2 separate regions of the Homo sapiens genome follow, and region 2 is linked to region 1. Evidence: promoter capture Hi-C in human tissues and cell types (Jung and others, 2019). All regions are on one chromosome and are shown on one strand. Each heading gives the region's core, a stretch centred on a gene start or on the middle of the fragment in contact. The rest is flanking DNA. Distances are from core to core; before and after follow the strand shown.

Evidence for each region. Contacts are between HindIII fragments. The study calls those that stand out against the background at their distance.
Region 2: a contact is called between a fragment that was not itself captured here and the fragment with the promoter of ORM1 in region 1, in 1 of the 25 tissues and cell types used here (spleen).

The regions. Positions count from the first base shown.
Region 1 is chr9:114,321,377-114,325,480 of GRCh38, forward strand. It overlaps ORM1 (orosomucoid 1), which reads left to right and starts at 1,722. Exons shown (of 6, transcript NM_000607.4): 1 at 1,722-1,871; 2 at 2,287-2,429; 3 at 2,642-2,712; 4 at 3,414-3,521; 5 at 3,673-3,776. The coding sequence starts at 1,758. The HindIII fragment of the contact is 10,741 bases long and covers 1-2,787 here.
Region 2 is chr9:115,018,976-115,023,079 of GRCh38, forward strand. TNC (tenascin C) reads right to left here. Exons shown (of 28, transcript NM_002160.4): 28 at 600-2,292. The coding sequence ends at 2,182. Among named protein-coding and RNA genes, the nearest start is that of TNFSF8, 90 kb to the left of the region's middle. The HindIII fragment of the contact is 3,565 bases long and covers 433-3,997 here.

The DNA of each region.
Region 1 (4,104 bases), core at 472-2,971:
TCAAGCAATCTTCCAGCCTCAGAGTCCAGAGTAGCTAGGCTTTCAGGTACATGGCACCAGACCTGGCTAATTTTTTTGTTTGTTTGTTTGTTTTCCTTGAGACGGAGTCTCACTCTGTCACCCAGGCTGGAGTGCAGTGGCGCCATCTCAGCTCACTGCAAGCTCTGCCTCCCAGGTTCACGCCATTCTCCCATCTCAGCCTCCCAAGTAGCTGGGACTACAGGCGCCTGCCACCACGCCCAGCTAATTTTGTTTTTGTATTTTTAGTAGAGATGGGGTTTCACCATGTTAGCCAGGATGGTCTCCATCTCTTGACCTCATGATCCGCCCGCCTCAGCCTCCCAAAGTGCTGGGATTACAGGCGTGAGCCACCGCGCCTGGCCGACCTGGCTAATTTTTAAATATTTTTGTGTAAAGATAGGGTCTCACTATGTTGCCCAGGCTAGTCTTGAACTCCAGGACTCAGGTGACTCTCCCATCTTGGGTCCATTAAGCTTTTAACTACAAACTACACTGAAATATGAAAGTTATTCAGAATGAAATGAATAAGAATGCAAAATTATAATCATACCGTAAGAATACTTTCTGAGTAATCCCAGCACTTTGGGAGGCCGAGACGGGTGAGTCACCTGAGGTCGGGAGTTCCAGACCAGCCTGGCCAACATGGAGAAACCCCATCTCTACTGAAAATAACAACAACAAAAAAAATTAGCTGGGCGTTGTGGAGGGCACCAGTAATCCCAGCGACTCAGGAGGCTGAGGCAGGAGAATCGCTTGAACCCAGGAGGCACAGGTTGCAGTGAGCCGAGATTGAGCCATTGCACTCCAGCCTGGGGGACGGGAGTGAAACTCCGTATCAAAAAAAAAAAAAAATGAATACTTTCTGAAAGTATTTATTCATACAAATAAAGACTTGACCCGTGAGGTAGGAACACAAATGGGCCACGGAATCACTCATTCCACAGAATATACCGAGTGCCCTTGAAGTGCTGGGCACTGCTCCAGGATTGGGGGCGTATTGGTGAAAGAGAAGCAAGCTGCCTGCTCAGATGGCAGGGAATGGGGGAAAACAGGGAGACAGTTTCCTGTTTGAGATGTTGGGAGATGCTTCGAGTAGTATATTTACTGGAAATAGACATTCAACTTGGATGTCCCTTTTTGGAAATGTGCCTGCGTCCAGGGCTGGGTTGGGGCCCCAATGAACTTTGGCTCTGACACAGCTGTTGCCACACTCAGTGGAACTGAATCTATGTTTGTCTTCCCCGGCATCCTTCACCCCAACTCTCCCCGCCACAACATACATCCCATGCCAGCCTGGGGACCCTCAAAGGTGGCTTCATCATTAGGTTTGTGGCTGGGTCCCACTGAAGTAAGTCTTGGCACTCAGAGGGATAGGAATTGAATGAAGACATGAGATTCCTCTGCGGGAGGCCTCTCTAGGAAATCTGTGGACTCACACGTTTACTAATGTTGCTGCAGCCCCGCACCCACCTTGGCCTTGGGCAGCCATACTCTAGGGCTTTTGTAACCTCTCCATGTGAGGAACTCAAATTAGACCTGGGTTTGGAGGCGGTGCTCCGAGCTGGCCTTTGGGGGAGGTTTTGTGCGAGGCATTTCCCAAGTGCTGGCAGGATTGTGTCACAGACACAGAGTAAACTTTTGCTGGGCTCCAAGTGACCGCCCATAGTTTATTATAAAGGTGACTGCACCCTGCAGCCACCAGCACTGCCTGGCTCCACGTGCCTCCTGGTCTCAGTATGGCGCTGTCCTGGGTTCTTACAGTCCTGAGCCTCCTACCTCTGCTGGAAGCCCAGATCCCATTGTGTGCCAACCTAGTACCGGTGCCCATCACCAACGCCACCCTGGACCGGGTGAGTGCCTGGGCTAGCCCTGTCCTGAGCACATGGGCAGCTGCCTCCCTTCTCTGGGCTTCCCTTTCCCTGCTGGCTGTGGTCGGACCCCCACTCCCGGCTCTGCCTTTTTCTCTTCTGGGTCCCCAGGGTGAAATTCTCACCAGCCCAGGGGACTCTGGAGGCACCCCCTGCCTCCAAACACAGAAGCCTCACTGCAGAGTCCTTCACGGAGGACGGTTCTGTGCTGGGCCTGGAGGGGCTGCCTGGGGGGCAATGACTGATCCTCAGGGTGAGCTCCTGCATGCGCACTGCCCACCAGGGGCCTCATCTCCCCATCTGCAAAATCAGGGAGAGATCTGCCTGAGTCTCCTCCCAGCTGACAGTCAAAGATTCAGCATCAAGCCCCCATCACCAGCTCCCACCTTCTCCCCAGATCACTGGCAAGTGGTTTTATATCGCATCGGCCTTTCGAAACGAGGAGTACAATAAGTCGGTTCAGGAGATCCAAGCAACCTTCTTTTACTTCACCCCCAACAAGACAGAGGACACGATCTTTCTCAGAGAGTACCAGACCCGGTGAGAGCCCCCATTCCAATGCACCCCCATCTCAGCTTCTGGCCAGAAGACCTGAGCAAGTCCCTCCTTCTTCCTGGCCTTGGCCTTCCCATGGGTGGAACCGGGAGGGCTGGCTTTAATCTCCACCAGACTCTTGCCCCAGGACTGTGATGGGCGATTGGCCACTTCTCAATAATCTTCCTGTTTTCCTTCCGCCTTCTGTTTGGCTTTAGACAGGACCAGTGCATCTATAACACCACCTACCTGAATGTCCAGCGGGAAAATGGGACCATCTCCAGATACGGTGAGGGCCAGCCCTCAGGCAGGAGGGTTCACTGTGGGAACAGGGCAGGCCAGCATAAGGTGGGGGCTGGATGTAGAGCCCTGGAGGCTTTGGGCACAGAGAAATAACCACTAACATTTTTGAGCTCTAACGATGTGCTCAGAAACAACTCTAAGAGGACACTGAGAGAATTAGAGGAGGAAAAAGAAGAACAGAGACCTCAAATAGTTTCCCCAAGGTCACACAGCTTATAATTAGAACTAGAATTGGAACTCCAGGCTGGCTTCAGATCTGCCTCTCTCTCATGCCCTCTTTAAGATCCTTTGCAAACCAATGGTAGAAGCCTGTATGTTGGAGAGGTGGTACCTTCAACTATGTCCCCCATCACCGCAGAGGTGGCACATGGCAGGGAGCTGATGGAGCTGAACTGACACCATTTAGCATCCCGAGCCTCCTCTCTGGGCCTCATTTTCCTCATCTGTAAAACGGAGAAAGGCCCTGACAGCCACGGTCTGTGTGAGGCTCCTGAGATCTCATGTACAGAAAGTGCTTGGCGTGGAGCTGGGCATGCAGCAGGGGCTGGGCACACGGTGGCCCAAAGGAGCCCTGGGCCTTCACTGATGGGCTGTGTGGCCACTGACACACCTAGGCCTCCTCACCTGTAAGACAGACACCATTGTGCCATCCCATGTTCTCACCCAGAGGCTCCTTTTCTCTTCCAGTGGGAGGCCAAGAGCATTTCGCTCACTTGCTGATCCTCAGGGACACCAAGACCTACATGCTTGCTTTTGACGTGAACGATGAGAAGAACTGGGGGCTGTCTGTCTATGGTAGGCATGCTTAGCAGCCCCAAACTCATGCCCCTCTCAGGCCTCACCCCCCATTCACCCACCCCTGGGCTGGCCCCTAGAACCCCAGCCCTCCCTGGCCTCCCGCCGGGCCCCACCATGTCCCCAGTCAGTCTCCTTGCTCCCCCTGCAGCTGACAAGCCAGAGACGACCAAGGAGCAACTGGGAGAGTTCTACGAAGCTCTCGACTGCTTGCGCATTCCCAAGTCAGATGTCGTGTACACCGATTGGAAAAAGGTAAACGCAAGGGATTGGACAGTGCCCACCTTGTCCATGGCCCAACTTGGGCAGCCCCAGAGGCCCAGAGCAGGAGAGCTGCCAGGCAAGGCTGCACAGCTAGGCAGATCTTCTGCTTTTAGGCACCTGCCTCACTGTAGGGACAGCTGAGCTCTACAGAGGCCCAGGGGTGGTGGATGAGAGCCCAGGAGGGAGAAGTCCCTGTGAAACCAGGGAGGACCTGAAAGCTAACAGGAGGGAACAGCGTGAGCCACGGGGTTGGGGGATTGGCAATTGGAGGGGACGTAATGCGGGGAGTTACCACCTACAGACGCGTCCCAAACCCCAG
Region 2 (4,104 bases), core at 965-3,464, 700 kb after region 1:
GGAACAGCACATTGTGTATCTAACATGACAGCATTTATTAAAGCAAGATAAACTCAGCAACAAAGGATATGGCTGGAACCATAAATTCCTCTGATCCTTGCTCCAGAGCCATCACATTCCATTTGAATGAGGCCTATCAGCCCAAACTTGACTTATTTTATTAAATAAGTCAATTTTCTGAAAATCCCTAAGAGAATGAACTGGGAATTACTCTCCCCCCATATACCCTTGTTTAAAAAGAGAAATGTTATGCGTTGAGCAGTTCTGACTCACTATATTTGCTGAGGACTAACAGACCTGCCATCCAGGCAATGGGTTCCCCATCACTAGATGTGTTCAGTCTGAGGCTGGAGGAATATGGGCTTGCTCCCTTTTTGGGGACTGCAGTGTAGAGGAGAAGGCGATATTCCTAATAGACATTCTTCCTAGTTTTCAGAGTTCAGGATTGTAGAAGCCTGAGGAAGCATCCAGTTGAACTGCCCCCATATCCCATTCTGCAACCTTCACTCTCTTGCCACAGCACACATTTCCCCAAAGAAGGAGAGATTTTCATTAAGGGACCGGGAAAGAGCAGGAACATTGGAGCCAGAAGACCTGGGTTTAAATCCAAATTCTATTATTTATTGAGTAGTAGCCACAATCAAGTCATTGGGTTTCTATGAACCCCAGTCCATCTCATATAAAGTGATAATGATGATAGCTAACATGTACTAGCACTTAATATACACCGGGTACCATTCTAAGGGCCTCAAATGGATAACATAATTTATTCTTCACAAAAATGTTCTGAAATGAGAAGTATGAGTGTCCCTACTTTACAGAAGAGGAAACTGAGGCATAGAGAGGTTAGGGAACTTGGGAATGGTGGAGCCAAGAATTGAACTCAGGCAGTCTGCCTCTGGGGATCTTAGCCCATGTGTGGTAACAATACTTACCTCAACTATATCATAGAGTTTCTAGGAGTTGCATTAGAAAATGAGTATAAAAGCATCTTTTAAACCATAATCTATTAGTCTTGGAAATACTGAGCAAGATGCTGAATCTCAAGTTGTAAGCTTTTTTTTTCTTTTCTTTTTTTATTTAGAGACAGGGTCTCCCTCTGTTGCCCAGGCTGGAGTGCAGTAGTGTGATCATAGCTCACTGTAACCTCTAACTCCTGGGCTCCAGTGATTTTCCTACCTCAGCCTCCTGAGTAGCTGGGACGACAGGTGCGCACTACCACGCTTGCCTAATTAAATTTTTTTTTTTTTTTTTTTCTGTAGAGACAAGTTCTCACTATGTTGCTCAGGCTGGTCTCAAACTCCTGGGGTTAAGCTATCCTCCCACCTTGGCCTCCCAAAGTGTTGGGATTACAGGCCTGGCCTGTAAGCTTTTCCCAAGTGTGTTCAACTTTATTTAAAAAAAGTGCTTCCCTCTCTCCCAGTCTTTAGTCTCCTTTCCACCCCTCCCACTTGACCACTATCCCTACTTACCTTTCCTATCCCAACATTCCCCGCTTTGTTCAAATGATTGGCTTTGGTGAAATTCAGACTCAACAATTCAAAGCAAAATAACAAACTCAAAAGTACTTGTGCTTTTATTTAAAAAAAAAATACAATCAGGTACTGTCCAGAAATGTTTTGGAAAGAAAGATCTCTTGAAAAATCCTTAGTTTTCATCATCATCATCATCATTATTATATTAATAATATTAATCATATCCTTAAAATGGAAACAGTATTGCTTTTCTGGTTTCTGTTGTATGAAATGTAAAAAAAGGGATGGCTTCCAATGACACATTTAATCTTTGCTAACAAAAATAATGACAATTAATTATACAGCTTCATGTAAAATACGGCTGGTTCTAAAACAAACTACCCCTGTACATCCTACCCCTCTCCCATTCCCAGAGCCACCTAAGAGAAGTAAAAAACTATTGCGATGTTGTCACTGGGAGATTTTTGCTGAATCAAACAACAAAACAGAAACATGTTGGAGACTGATGTCTTTGGTGCAAAGAAAGAAATCACAGAGGAGGTGAGGCCCATGCTGTTGCCGTTGGCCCCAGGGATCCATGGTCAGCTTTGACTCTCACCAAATGCCCAGGTGTGGACCGATGGTTGGGCTGGTTGTATTGATGCTTTGGTAAAATCCTTTCCTCGCTCTGGGCCTTATTCCTCTCTCACCCAGTGGTCCCTGGAATTTATGCCCGTTTGCGCCTGCCTTCAAGATTTCTGAAGTTGCTTGGTCTCAGCTTCATCTCAGCAAACTGGATTGAGTGTTCGTGGCCCTTCCAGTGGAACCAGTTAACGCCCTGTTAAAAAAAAAAAAGAGAGAGAGAGAGAGAGAGAGAAGGCCTCCAGGTTGGTTACTGTTAGGCGAGGTGTTCACTGATCATTGCTATTTAGTCATTCAAACTAAATGAGTTCTGTTTCAATTTGACCATTTGGTATATCACAGCTGCCTCTTGCCTATCTCTCTGTTGGTCTGGGTTGTGGAAACTTTCAAAGGAACTGGCTGAATCTGACCCAGTTTTTCACCTGAGTCAAGAGTCGCCTGAGTTTGCATGGAGCTTTGGTCTTTCCTCTTGAGGCAAAATGGTGGCTGATGAAATCTGCCGTCCTTAGGAATAGGTTCTGAAGGAGTTCAGGTCATTATTAGAAGTTCTAGAATTGAATAGCTACATACATGGTGTGTGTGTGTGTGTCTGTAATTCACGAGATTCCTATGGAGTATTTTGATAGGGGTTTGGTATGGAATAGCAGAACGAACAGCTCAACAAAACACAGTTTTACAATTTGACATATAGGGTTAAATATCAGTGTTCTTACTTGAGAGATAAATAGTCTTAAGTTCTCAATATCTTCTGAGCCTCGGTTTTACTATTTTTTTTTCTTTCTTAAGATCTGATAATGTTAGCCTTGAAAGATGAGATGAAGATTAAATGAGTTTGTAAAGGAGCTATCACAGAGCTGGGCACGTCGTAGGTGCTTGGTAAATATTACTTCCCTAGTCTCAAGTAGGGGGAAATATCCTTGAAATTTTGGCCAAAGCTTTCTACAAGAAAAAACTGTATCTGTGTCTTGGCTTCCAGGTTTCAACTTTGACTCTTCAGCGAAGTCTGCAGATGGTAGAGTCAATCCATGAAACCCCACATGGCCCCTTGCCCCACTGTGGGGAAGTTAATGGCTAGTGAGATGGGAAAAAAATAGAGACACTTTATTTGCTTCTAATTGTTTGGCATTCACTGACATGGGCAGTTTCTGAGTCTTACAGGGATGTGAGGTTTAAGAATGGCTCATTCATTTCATGGGCAAATCCGCTTGTAATTACTCAGTTACAGTGAGTATGGTAGTCCAACAGCTTGGTGCACATGCTGCCTGCCTTTGCCCTGGTTCTTTCCTCTGATAGTTCAGGGTTGGAAGCCACGCCTTCTTGTACTGTGGTGGGCACTAAAGCCAGAGAGGGAGAGTGACTTTGCAGAGGCCACACAGCAGGAGGAGCAGAGCTGGAGCTGGGGCTCCCCTCCTGTGGCTCCTTTCCATGTCATCTCTTTCTTCTTCCATAATTGAATGGAAGGATGAAAGAGAGGCTTGCTTTCTAACATGTAGCTTGTTGGTTTTTTTTTTCTTTTCCCAGAAGAACTTTGTATTATACGAGTATTTTTGAGACAAGGCAATAAAGATGATAAAATAATGCTCAGAATGGAAATATTGATGAAATAACACAATAAGATGGAAACAACACAGGACTGCTGTCAAGAAATGTCCTGTGACTCTTGCCTCCTCTGTAAAACAGGCATGAAAAACCACATCCTAATTCCTGCACAGGGTAAAAATGATAAACCCTTGAGATACAGAAGGTAACAGTGCTTTGAAAAGTGCCAGAAATTATGTAAGGTAAGGTCTACACTTAAGGTCGCAGGTGTCATTTGCTAGCAGTTAATTAGGGCATAAACATGTGTATCAAAGTGACTAATATTGAAAAGCAACAGGTCCCAACACCTGCTGCATGTCAGGAATCGCTTGTGGAGTCTATCAACTGCCTCCCCCCTGACCCCACAACAACAAAAATGCAAATATGCAAAAAAAAAAAAAAAATGAGATGCTGTGTCTTGCCTGAGATC